Linked DNA regions of Homo sapiens: region 2 is linked to region 1. Evidence: promoter capture Hi-C in human tissues and cell types (Jung and others, 2019). All regions are on one chromosome and are shown on one strand. Each heading gives the region's core, a stretch centred on a gene start or on the middle of the fragment in contact. The rest is flanking DNA. Distances are from core to core; before and after follow the strand shown.

Region 1 (6,019 bases), core at 1,176-3,675:
TTCCTGGTTTTTGTTTGTTTGTTTTTGTTTTGCAGTTTTTGTAAATGGGATTGCCTTCTTGATTTCTTTTTTGGCCATTATAGATGCATAGAAATGCAAACTAATTTTGGATGTGGATTTTGTATTCTGCAACTTTATTAATTTATGAGATCTCAATGGTTTTTTGGTGTAGTACCCATACATGAACTGTTGTCAGTCTATGATGAGATCAACGCAATATTGAGAATAAGTGTTTAGGAACTTTCACGAAACTTTCAAGGAGTAATATCTGTTAAATCTAATAAACAATTTGGCCTTGTATTTTGCAAACCTTTTTCTTTAATTTTCCTAGTGCAGTTATCCCTTAGTATCTGCAGGTTATTGGTTTCAGGACCCCCAAGGATAGTAAAAGCTAAAGATGCTCAAGTCTCTTAAATAAAATGGCATTAGTGTCTACATATAACCTATGCATACCCTCCTGTATACTTTAAATCAACTCTAGATTACTTATAATATCTAATACAATGTAAATGTTATGTAAATAGTTGTTATACTGTATTGTCTTCTATTTGTATTATTTTGTTTTTTACAATTTTTACAAATTTTTCAATCTGTGGTTGGTTGAATCTGAGGATATGGAACCAACTGTGATTAATTTTTCTTATATTTTAAAAAAGTTTTGGTTGGTGATGGTTTGAAAATTAAAAACAAAACACTGTTCCTTCTTGCAGATAGTTTGAGAAAAAACAGCCCAGATTATAAATTGAAAAATTAATAACTTTTGGTGAGGTCCCAAGTTAACCATGTTTTTTCATTTTCTTAGAGTTCATTAATTAATTAGAGTTCACTAATTAATTTCCAGCTGATATTCTTTGCTTGTGTTTTCACTCTGAGAAGTTACCATTTTACCAGTCAGGTTAGAAGTCAAGCAGTAAGTTCAGTGGAAAAACAAGTAATAATAAATCTACTTAGTGAGACCGTACTGTGCAACCGACTCTGCACAGAGAAAAACAACCTATTACGTAGATATTTTTATTCCCATTTTATTCCCATTTTAGAGATGTGAAACAACTTAACCACAGCACAGAGCAAGTGTAGAGACAGAACCGGGATTCCGATGAAGATCTGTCTGGTTCCAAAGTCTCTACACTTTTACTACACTGTTCTTTATTAATCACTAGATAGAACCATACACATATTGTTACATCAGGCAGAAGGTTTCGAGGGTTCTATTAACAAAGTGCTACGAATGAACTGGGTGGAAGAAAGTACATAGGTCTCCCATTCAAGGGTTCATCAGCCTTCACTAAGGAAATTTAAGTCAAAGTAGCTGACAGTGAGTCAGCATTTTGGAAGGCAGGTAGAGATGGTGAAGAAATAAGGAAATTCTTCTATGAGTCATGATAGATATTTAAGCTTGTTAAAAAATGTTTTTGACTACCTACTCCCTTTGCCTACAGAGTCCAGTTAAGGTATCTTAAAAATTATGGAAATAAAAACAATCGGTCGCTGTCTGTCCTCGCCAAACTCAAAAAAGGCTAAGCCTTTTGTGCTTAAACACATACTCATCAGTAACTATTCTACCTTACACTGAACATAACTAAGCTAGGTTGTTCTTCTTGGGAATGTACTTGCAAGTTAATACTGCACTGCAACTATAAGGTTTTTTAAAAGACATCAGTTGTACATTATAAATTAAATCTAGTTTAAATCAATATAATTCAATTTATCCTAGCAAGGAAGTTTTTTAAGGATGGTCTGATTTTTTTTTTACAGGAATAATCTTTGCATAATTTTACACCCCATACATGAGATGATTAGGATTCAATCTCAATCAGAAAAATCCCTTTATGGTGTCCTTATGGCTTTCCTGTATCCTAACAGAAAAATCCTAGCAGAAGCATTTCCCCTTTACCCAGTTCCTGTTCTCTTATCACAGTTCTATTCCTCCACACTCCCTTCCTGCTAGGCACGGGAATTTGAAAGGGCAGGGAAAAATCGGTGAAAGTTTGTCTTCTACTTGGGTAATCCAACACCACCGCATCCAGTAGTATATAATTCTTTTTGCATGTATATCAGATCCTCCCCAATCCCTCTCCCATACCTCTTTCTCACTTTTCTCTCATTATCCGGTCCTCTTGTTTTCCTTGACCCCCACATTCCTGTCTAAATCATCCTCCTGGCCTCAGGTCCTTATCGCCTTCCTGAGACCCTCATGTTTAGTGTTCCCTCATTCCTCTTACACCTAGGATTTCTCCTCCTTCCATAAGGGTCTGGTCCTTCATCCCTCCCGCTTCACCAGACCCCCTCACCCTGGGAGCCGCCACCTCCCTTTCCCCAAGACCAGATGTCGCGCGGCCGGACACAGCCAGCACGGAGAGTCGATGCCGGCGTCTGAGCTGCGCAGTGGGGTCTTCCCGCTGCCCAGCAGCCTACAGGCGCGGTGCACTCTGGGGGAACATGGCCGCTTCCGGTCTCCCTCCCGGGCCGGCGCTGGCCTGACTGCGGCCCCGGTCCGTAGCACTCCGCCCTCCGCTTCTCCCGCCCTGTAGCCGCGAAGACTGCTTCAGCCTTTCCCTGTGCTGCCCCTGCCGCGCGATGGAGAAGAGCTCGAGCTGCGAGAGTCTTGGCTCCCAGCCGGCGGCGGCTCGGCCGCCCAGCGTGGACTCCTTGTCCAGGTAACCAGGACGCCCAGGGCCCCGCCCAGCGTCCGAAGGGGATGGAGAGGGGCCGGGGACCTGCTGGATTGTTGCCCCAATTCGCGGATTCTGGTTTCTGAAGGCTACGCCGGAATTCCTTCCCCGGGACTTGGGAACCACTTCTGCCTCCCTCCCTGGGGCGTGGAGGCTGAGGAAAAGGAGGTTAAAACTCGCTGCTTCTTTATCGATTCCTCTACCTTTCATATTCCGATCTCGTTTTCTCCCCGATGGAGGTGGTCCCAGTTAATTACTTTCTCCTGTCTTTCATTCCCTCTCAAACCTTTTTTAAGACAGTTCCCCCCGCCCCCATTCTTTTCCCCACATTTCCTGTCTTTCTCTGTCACTTTTTCCAAAACCATCCTAAAGTCAGTCTTTCCTCCTCCACCCCTTCTTATGTCTTTGGTTTTTGGGTTCTTGCCCAGCCCTTTTCTCTCTTTTCATGGCTTCACCTTCTTAATTTCTTTCATGCTTTTCTCTACACTCTGATTTTCTTCTCGCCTCCCTTTTTGCTTAAATATGTAAATAAAAATGTCTCCTGTGCTTCTCTTTTCTAAATCTTCCAGCTGAAAGTCAGTATCAAGGAATCTGAGTGGTTTTTATCCCCAGTGATAGGTTTAAGAAAACAAAATGAGTGGTAGTTTTCTTCCTTCTTGGGCTACTGGTTCTCCACGTTGTCATTTCTCTTGTAACAGATGGGAATTTTATCCTGGAATTTTGAGGAGGACTTTATGCAGCTTTGCAGAGAGCTTTTATGAATATTAACTAGACGCGTTTTGGATGCAGTCTTTTTCTTTGATTTTAAAATAATGATTTAAAAATTTTTTAAAAAATAATATAAGACCTGTATTTGCTTTTTATGCAGCCACGATGAAATCTGGTTCTTTTCCACTGAATAATAGTCTAATTGTTATTAGAGAGTGATTCGATAACTGCTGTGTGAAAACACACAATTTTCATTTTCTCCTTCAATCAGTTGAAGTGGCTCTATTATAATTCATTTTGGATTCTGCTAAATATGGGTAGTTATTGCCTTTTTTCCTGTTGATGTTCAGCACCTCACTGGGGAACCACTGTCTGATCCCGTCATTCTACATTGCCATATGCACTCATAGCTCCCTGCACAGTCGTTTTTCAGAGTCTTTAATAAGCACACTATAATTGTTGGCTTAAAGTGCCTTTTCTACCAGGTTATAAGCTATTATACTTGAGGGCAATCTTAATCATCTTCATATCTCCAGCACTTAACATAGTCTCAGCATGTGATAGGTGCTCACTAAATGGTTTTTTTTTTTTCGAATTTGTAGCCTGAATTATCCAGGAAAGGAGGATTTTTCTTTGCAGTTTGATTATATATATTGCACGTTTGAATCAAGTATTTTTTGAATTCTGTATTTATTGCTTTGAAATTTGGAAAGCTGAGGATTAACATGTTCAGTTGTGTAATTCATTCAGAAAACAGGTTGGAAAATTCGAATTTTATGGGAAAGTTACAAATGACAACTATGCCTCAGAATAGCATAAGAGGCAACCAGTACTCTCATCCAAGGCAGAGAAGTTAGAACCACATGAAGCAGCACAGTATGTTAGAAAGAAGGAAGTACTGGAAGTTAGGAAGCTCCCATGCTGAAGTCTCTGGCTGAGCTAGCTCTTTGGTCTTTTCATTTAGACTTTCTAGTCTACAGTTTTCTCATCTTTTAAAATAAGAAGCTTGATCTAGAAAATCTGTAAGGTCCCTTGGAACTCTAACATTGTCATTTTTAAAATTTTAATGACAATACTAAGATGAATGCATTGATATTAATTTTAAAGATAATTCCTTTGCAAATAACCTTTGTTTTGGATTTTTGCAATTACACGAAATAAGTGTCCTTTATTATTACAAACTAATATACCTAACGGTGCCACTTGAACATATTTATTTCCTAAAACAGAAAGCCCAGCAAGTATAAAGATTATATATGTATATGAACTTCTCTATAAAAAATTATGTTACTGACAAATTTGAGAAAATTAAGTACTCCTCGAGAGAATTGTGATATAGTAGATTAGCCTAATCCTCTCTGGACAAAAATATAAGTATGATTCCTATTTTCCATAAGAGAATGCCAGCTTTCATTACTCTCCTCTGGAAGGTAGAAAAGTAACATTTACTTAATGTCTACTGTATGGAAGTTTCCCTGCTAAATTCTATGTATCTTTTATTTCATTAATCATCATACCTGTTTGTGGCACTCTCCTTAATCAACAGTATGTAATAGATACATTATAGACACTAGTTAGAAAGCTTAATTTTAAACAATCTAGGCTAACACTTCATCGCAGGTGACTCTAATACATTGCCAGTGTGGCCTGCTTTGGTCTCATAGCTATGTTAAGTGTCTATCTAGATTGTTTAAGTTATTTCTTTTGTTTCATTAGCCTTTGACAAAGCAAAATTATTGCTGTTTGGCCTATATTATCTCAGTTTTTGCAGAAATGATTCCCTTAAATTGTAGTTTATTTTTATGCTTTCTGTTTTTATACAGAGGCCTAATTGGGAAACTGCCTTTGGAATTTGTTTTGATATCTCTGGCAGAATAATAGTTAATATTGTTAAATGTGTCACAGAATGTTTTTCACACATGCATTAACATAAATTTCTGCTGAGTTTAGCTACAAAGAAAATTATTTATAGAAAAAATTATGTATGCTCCTTGTTTGTTAGTAAGTGGTAACTATATAACTGCGTCTTTCTCTTTAGCTTAGTAAAACTTTAGTCAAATTTATATCTGAAGGTGGTAATATACTCATCTCTAATTTCTTTAAGTACTTTTATTATTACATGAACTCAAGTTAAATATTATGTGTTATGTTTAAATGTATTGATTAGATGTCTGAAGCCCTTTTGGGAAGTAGGAAGGATGATACACTAATCCATGTGGTTGCCCATTGTTTTTTGAAAATGACATACTTGGCCGAGTGCCATGGCTCATGCCTGTAATCTCAGCACTTGGGAGGCCAAGGTGGGAGGATCACTTGAGCCTAGGGGTTTGAGACCAGCCTGGGCAACATAGTGAGGCCCCATCTCTAAAAAAGAAAGACTTTTTAAAATAAGTAAAAATATTTTAAAAAATGAAAATGACATACTCCATTGAAGTTGGATTACAGGCTGTTGTGCAATCTGTAGTTCACAATAAACATGTGATGAGTCTTACTAAGTATCTGTAGTCATTTCAGAGTTCTCTTGTCTCCAGTTATGCCTTCTAGGTCATCATAGATCTGATGCTTTTGCCCACAAAAGGGCAATTTCATTCTTCATATGATATCCAGGTAGTAGTTTCCTAACCAGCTATAGTTATGTC
Region 2 (6,869 bases), core at 1,215-3,714, 60 kb after region 1:
ATGACAATTTGGGTGTGTCTGTGTGTTCTCTGGGTTGTAACTCCTTTAGAGAACTGTTTCTGTATCCACATTCTTGGAATATAGTGTAGCATCCTTCAAAAGGTAACTACCTGGTCATATTTGTTGATCATGAATTTATTTAAACTCTTTTTCAACAAGATGATTTATCAACATCATTTCTAAATTCTCTAAACATTAAATCTACACAAGAACTTAATTTTGTCTGAGTTTAAATGTACTATGGCCCTTCAGCATGGCTTTGGAATCCATTCAACTGTAGTTCAGATCTACACACTGGCACTTTAACTATGTGATCTTGAACTAATTACCACTTTCGGCTGCTTTTTCCTCATCTGAGAAATGAGGATATAATACCTCTTTTATTGTTAGGCTGTCTTAGGATGCAGTGCAAAAACATGTACAATTTTTTGTGTAACAAATGTAGAGTGCTTTGATATGATTTAAGCACTCAGTAAATGCTTTCTAGAAAAACATTAACTTCATATATTATACATGCCAACACTACAGTTTAACAAATTTGATTTAAAATAGTGTATGTGATATGATGTTATAACTTCAAGAGCAAGTATACTCAGTTGAAATATGAGTGAAAAAGTAGCCTTTGAATAAAAAAATGTTTCTTTTTTTGTCTTTCCCACCCCAGGTCCTGAGGGAGTCTAACAAGTTAGCAGAAATGGAAGAACCACCCTTGCTTCCAGGAGAAAATATTAAAGACATGGGTCCGTAATGGTATTTTTTGCTTAATGTCCTTCTCCGTTCTACTGTGCAGAATGTTCAGTACTCTCAGCATACAGAGAATAAACTGGCTGTCAGAGACACCTCCTGTCTGGCAGAACTCTTTACCTGCAGTCTTCTCAGCATCTTAGTGTGTTCTACAAACGTAAGCCTAGACCCGCTGCTAGTGTTTGTGTTTGAACTCCTGGGAAACATGCAAATTGAATTATACTTTGCCTCTTCTCTGGTTTGTTTTACTTTCTTTAAAAGTAGGTGGATTTTTGCTAAAACTGTTGCTGAAGCCTGTGAAGGAAAATTTTATTATTTTGAATTACTATATTCAGATATTGAGTTGCCTAGATAAAAACATTGAATTGTCACCTTATACAAGTAATTTTTCTTAAAATATCTTCTCTTCTGTTTGCTTCCTTCATGTCTTTCTTCTCTGAATAAAGTCAGGTTAATTTTTGGATGAAATACATCATCTCCATTGCATCTGTTTGTATGTAGATGCCCTTCTCTGCCCAGCCTAATACTTATAATATGGACTGGAAACTGAAAATGAGCTTACAAGCTGTGTTTTTTTTCCTCATGCTTTTGTTTTGTTTCATCTGTGTGATAATCTACAGATATCTACTCATAAACTCTGAGAAATAAAGTAATATGTTAGAAGAATGAAGTAAATGATTTCTTAGTTAATATAACTACCATGTTTCATTTTGTTACCAATCATAATTTTTAAAAAGGATTTTAAAAATGCTGAATTTTACTTGGCTAGGTGTCATTTCTATGTGTAAAAACAAGCCAAAGGCAGGACCTGTATTCTAAATGGATTATTATTTACTAAATTTAGCTTCCTAGTCCTTAGCATGCTATTTGTCTTTTCTTGCTCTTGGCTCTTGATTGAATAACCTCTCAGTCTTTTTCTTTTCCCCAGTTAGCCTTATATATACACCAAGCTCTTGATCTGAACTACCTACTTACATTTTTTCAGAATTGGCTATTATATAATGATAGTAGTTATTATTATTGAGTGCTTACTATCTCAGTCATTCTCAGAGAGTATATTCTTGAGAATAACATCAACCCCATTTTATAGGTGAGGAAGGAAACTAAGGCATAGGAAGATAACCTAGCTAATAAGGTTATATCTAGCATTGTGACAATTTCTTTTTCTTATTCTGAACTTAATGCCGTAATTGCAGCTCCCATTATGAAATATGGCTTTATTAAAGAACTTCAAGTTACCACTCAGTCTCATTTGTTGGCTCTTCTTCCTTTAATAGCAACACGCCCTAGGACTTCATCCTTGACCCATTTCCCTTTTCCCTCCTGTATACTCTTTTCGGTTGACCATATCTAAATTTGTAACATCACTTGCCATATATTGGCTGATGACTCCAAAATTTGTTATCTCCAGTGTGAACCCCTGTCCTAATGTAAGTAAACAAATGCCTCTATCTTAAACACACATCCTTGAATATCCCATAGGAACCTTATACCCAACATCTCCAAAATGGAAATCATCACGTTTAACTCCAAACTTACTCTTTTTCTTGCATTCTCTCTCTCAGTTGACATCAATACCAGCTGTCCATTTACTCAAGTCAGAAATCTGGTTGTCGTACTAGACTGCTCTTTTTTTCTTTTCTGGACTCTTAACATCCAGTCAGTGTCTAAGAATTTCTTGTATTTATCTTCTTTTCTCCATTGTCATGATCTCTTGAGGAATGATAGAGGGTACAGAACAAAGCAAAGACTAATGATGATAATAGTAACATAGGTATAAACCCTTGAATTTTTGTATTGTACTTAGAACTTTAGAAGCATCTTTATATGTATATTATCTCATGATTTTAGAATAAAGGGGAAGATGTAACAGAAAAGCACTGGCCTGAGAATGACATTCCTGTGGTGGGATATAGGATAATAAGGCTGAGTTTTCTTACATGAGTAAGAAAATTGACTGTGGAAGGAATCCAGAAATGTTTTAGTAACCTTGAATAAAGCTTTTCTAGTTGAGGTAAAAATTCATAAGGGAAAAATATTATTTGTGCAAAGCAAGTTTGTGTATTTTTGTATAATGATGGGTTCATTTAATTTTAAAAGCTTCCCTCTAAATGAAATATGCATTCGAAACGATTTAAAAAAGTAGTTTATACTTAAAATGTTCCTAAGGGAACTATTTTGAAGGTTAGAAATGATTGTGAAAAGATCAGTCTCATTTCAAATTCCATACAAAGCAGCCAGTCCTTCGAAGTGTTGAATGAGAAGCAAAGTCAGGAGGTTGTAATACCTTATTAAATATATTTCATGGCCCCAAGTTTTCCCAGAAGCCCGTTGAAAGGGTCTTAGAAAGTTGTTGCTCCACAGAATTGTCCCTTACTTCCTTGGAATGATGAAGATACTCCTTTATCTGCTGATTTGGTGTAATAATGACATACTAGGAATTTATGAATATTTTAAGATATAAAAACCATGTATTGGAAATTATGAACTGTGGCATTTTAAATAATATTTTGAGATACTGATTCCTAAGTTATCCTGCATAATCAGTTAATGCATATTTTACAAAACATAATGCCATGTAGATCCATTGTTTATTTGATAAAACATTACTTGTGATTATTTCTTTACAAAGTCTGGCATTGGTTGGTCAGCAGTACAATATCCTCTTCTTATACTGTTATTTTTCTAAGAAATTATATTTTAAATGTGTGTCATTTCACCTGTAAAATTTTCCCCATAAGTATTAATCAGATCAGGAGTTTGTGGAATAACATATGTTTTGGACATTGCATTTTTAGAAGAATGTTGACAAACTGGACAGGAAATTGGTGAGGTTACATAGAAACTGCAATGAGATGATGGCGACTGTGCCTTGACATGCTTATTGTTGATACCACCATTACCAGTATTCTTTCACCCGTCTCTGCTGCAGCTACCCACACCTGTTTTATCTAGCCAGGATAGTAGCCCCTTTGTTTACTTCCATTCTGTCTCATGGGATGAGAAGTCCCTCCACCTTTTCAGCCTATCCCATTTAATTCTGTGTTTCTTCCCCAGATTAGTGCAAGGATGGAAGCTTGGGTTGTAGGATTCTGAGGTCTCTGGAAATTACTGGTTCTGTTATTTTTCAGCATAAATTAGTCTAGGAATCATAACAATTTTATAAGATGAGATAGCAGGTTTTAATAGCACATAATGTATAGTAAACTGTGGACTTCTTGCTTTTTCAGCCAAAGATGTAACTTATATATGTCCATTCACTGGCGCTGTACGAGGAACTCTGACTGTCACGAATTATAGGTTATATTTCAAAAGCATGGAACGGGTAAGAGTCAGATTAGATTTTTGTATGTACATGAGTGTGTTGTTTGTAGCTAGTTTTGTTCATTTCTGATCATTTCTAATTAAAGCATTTCTGATTAAGATTTTGATCAGCTCTATAATTGGACAGTATTAATTGCTCAGTTTTAATTATTTTTTCTTTCCTTCTTTAGGATCCCCCATTTGTTTTAGATGCTTCCCTTGGTGTGATAAATAGAGTAGAAAAAATTGGTGGTGCTTCTAGTCGAGGTGAAAATTCTTATGGACTAGAAACTGTGTGTAAGGTAAATGTTATAATATGTATGTGATTTTCTTTGGTTTGAAAAGCTTTGTATTAAATAGAACCTCTGTTTTGAAATTGGTTTCTAAAATATAAAATGGATTTCCAATTAGAAATGTTATTTTAGTATGACATTGATAGAAGAAAACAAAATTTAGCAGTAATAGAAAAGGTGATTCATGAATTAGACTTAATTCTTTTGGGCCCAGTTCAGTCTACATATTTTGATATATTCACAAATTCATAACTTATTTTTTAATAATGATCATCTTGGCCGGACATGGTGGCTCACGCCTATAATCCCAACACTTTCAGAGACTGAGGCAGGTGGATCACATCAGGTCAAGAGTTCGAGATCAGTCTGGCCAACATGATGAAAACGCATCTCTACTAAAAATACAAAAATTAACCAGGCGTGGTGGCGGGCACCTGTAATCTCAGCTATTGGGGAGGCTGAGGCAGGAGAATTGCTTGAACCTGGGAGGCGGATGTTGCAGTGAGCCAAGATAGTGCCACTGCACTCCAGCTTGGGCAACAGAGTAAGACTCTGTCTGAAATAATAATAATAATAATAATAATAATAATAATAATAACCATCTTTAATGCACATAGTACTGATAGGATACCACATAGTTCCACATTGATGATTTCACTTTGAGCCTTATAAAAATCCTGTGAGGTAGGCACAATAGACATTACTACCTTTAATTTACAAATTAGCAACATAAGGCTCTGAGCAGTTCCACTACTTCGTAGTGGAAGAACTAAATAACTAAATATGTTATATTCATCATCACCTATCTTTTCTGTTTCTAGTTCTCATAATTTTTCTTTTTTTTTTTTTTTGAGACGGAGTCTCGCTCTGTTGCCCAGGCTGGCACAATCTCAGCTCACTGCAAGCTCCGTCTCCTGGGTTCACGGGATTCTCCTGCCTCAGCCTCTCGAGTAGCTGGGACTACAGGCGCCCACCACCACGCCCAGCTAATTTTTTTTTGTATTTTTAGTAGAGATGGGGTTTCACCATGTTAGCCAGGATGGTCCCAATCTCCTGACCTCGTGATCTGCCCATCTCGGCCTCTCAAAGTGCTGGGATTACAGGCGTGAGCCACCGTGCCCGGCCAGTTTTTCTACTTCTAAAACAATAGTGTGGAAAAGTTGATATTGTAGACTTTTCTTATGTTCTTATTTACTGGCATTCTTTAAATGCGTTGATACTTGAATGAAACATAGATTGTTACATTTTTACCATTAAGTCATAGGTATTTAATTCTACGTACCACTTCTCCAGGTCACTGTTATTAAGGCCTAATTAACTAACACCCATGCACATTGAGATTCTACATCACATTGTTCCTTTCTTTTTATTCTGCCAGTGCCAAAAGAAACAGCATGTGTATAATTCAAGATACTTTGTTATGCTAATCTTAGAAGTTTTGTGACTCTGGTATTAAAGCTAATGACTTAGTAATTATTTTTGTAGTTTTCTTTTTTTTTGAGACAAGAGTCTGGCTCTGTTGCTTAGGCTGGAGTGCAGTGGCGTGATCTTGGCTTACTGCAGCCTCTGCCTCCCGGGTTCAAGTGATTCTCCTACCTCAGCCTCCTCAGTAGCTGGGATTACAGGCATATGCCACCATGCCTGGCTAATTTTTGTATTTTTGGTAGAGATGGGTTTCACCACATTGGCCAGGTTGGTGTTGAACTCCTGGCCTCAAGTGATCTGCCCGCCTTGGCCTCCCAAAGTGTTGAGATTACAGGTGTGAGCCACTGTGCCTGGCCTGTGGTTTTCCATTATAGTCAGAAGGGCTCTGTGAGTGTAATCGCTGGCAACCATGTGTCAAGCACACTGTTTCCTGATCACTTTTCTGTAGTTTAAGAGTAAGTAGTGCATAGAATATAAGACGATGTGAAAGAAGATAATTTTGAATCTTAATCATTTTAAATATAATTTCTTTCCATGGAACAGGATCGTTATCAATAAACAAAAATATTTGTAGGGCCCCTGACATGGTACTTTCAGAGAACTCTGTGGTTAACAGAATGATTCTGAGTATCTCACCTAGTTATAAAGATATTTACTGAGGGAAAACAAGATATCAGCTTAGGTTCCCGCACATGTTTATTTTAAAAGATAGTAAAGCCAGCATTCTAGTTTTGGATCATATACTGTCTTACTTATGTATTGTGGGTACACTGTAGTGGAGAGGCTTTGTGTGTGGTTCTACAAAATGAGGCATAATAAAGCTATTTTGAATTCTGCCTAGGTAAAAACATTTAAATAAAATGATCAGTCTTAAAATTATTCTTTTCTTATAAATTTTTTTTAAAAAATTTTTTGTAGAGACAAGGTCTCACTATGTTGCCCAGGCTGGCCTTGAACTTGTAACAATTCATGTTTCATTCAAGTATCAATCAATGCATTTAAAGAATGTCGGTAGATAAGAACATAGGAAAAGTCTACAATACCAATTTTTCCCCACCACTGTTTTAGAAGTAGAACACCTCAAGTGTCCCTCTTGCTTTGTCC

Evidence for each region. The method cuts DNA at HindIII sites, captures the fragments that hold promoters and counts their contacts. A contact is called where the count stands out against the background at its distance.
Region 2: a contact is called between a fragment that was not itself captured here and the fragment with the promoter of MTMR2 in region 1, in 2 of the 25 tissues and cell types used here (hippocampus and mesenchymal stem cells).

The regions. Positions count from the first base shown.
Region 1 is chr11:95,920,513-95,926,531 of GRCh38, reverse strand. It overlaps MTMR2 (myotubularin related protein 2), which reads left to right and starts at 2,425. Exons shown (of 15, transcript NM_016156.6): 1 at 2,425-2,657. The coding sequence starts at 2,578. RefSeq lists enhancers at 2,208-2,337, 2,398-2,447. The HindIII fragment of the contact is 5,565 bases long and covers 1-2,890 here.
Region 2 is chr11:95,859,472-95,866,340 of GRCh38, reverse strand. MTMR2 (myotubularin related protein 2) reads left to right here. Exons shown (of 15, transcript NM_016156.6): 3 at 665-740; 4 at 3,975-4,069; 5 at 4,239-4,349. Among named protein-coding and RNA genes, the nearest start is that of MTMR2, 61 kb to the left of the region's middle. The HindIII fragment of the contact is 3,285 bases long and covers 822-4,106 here.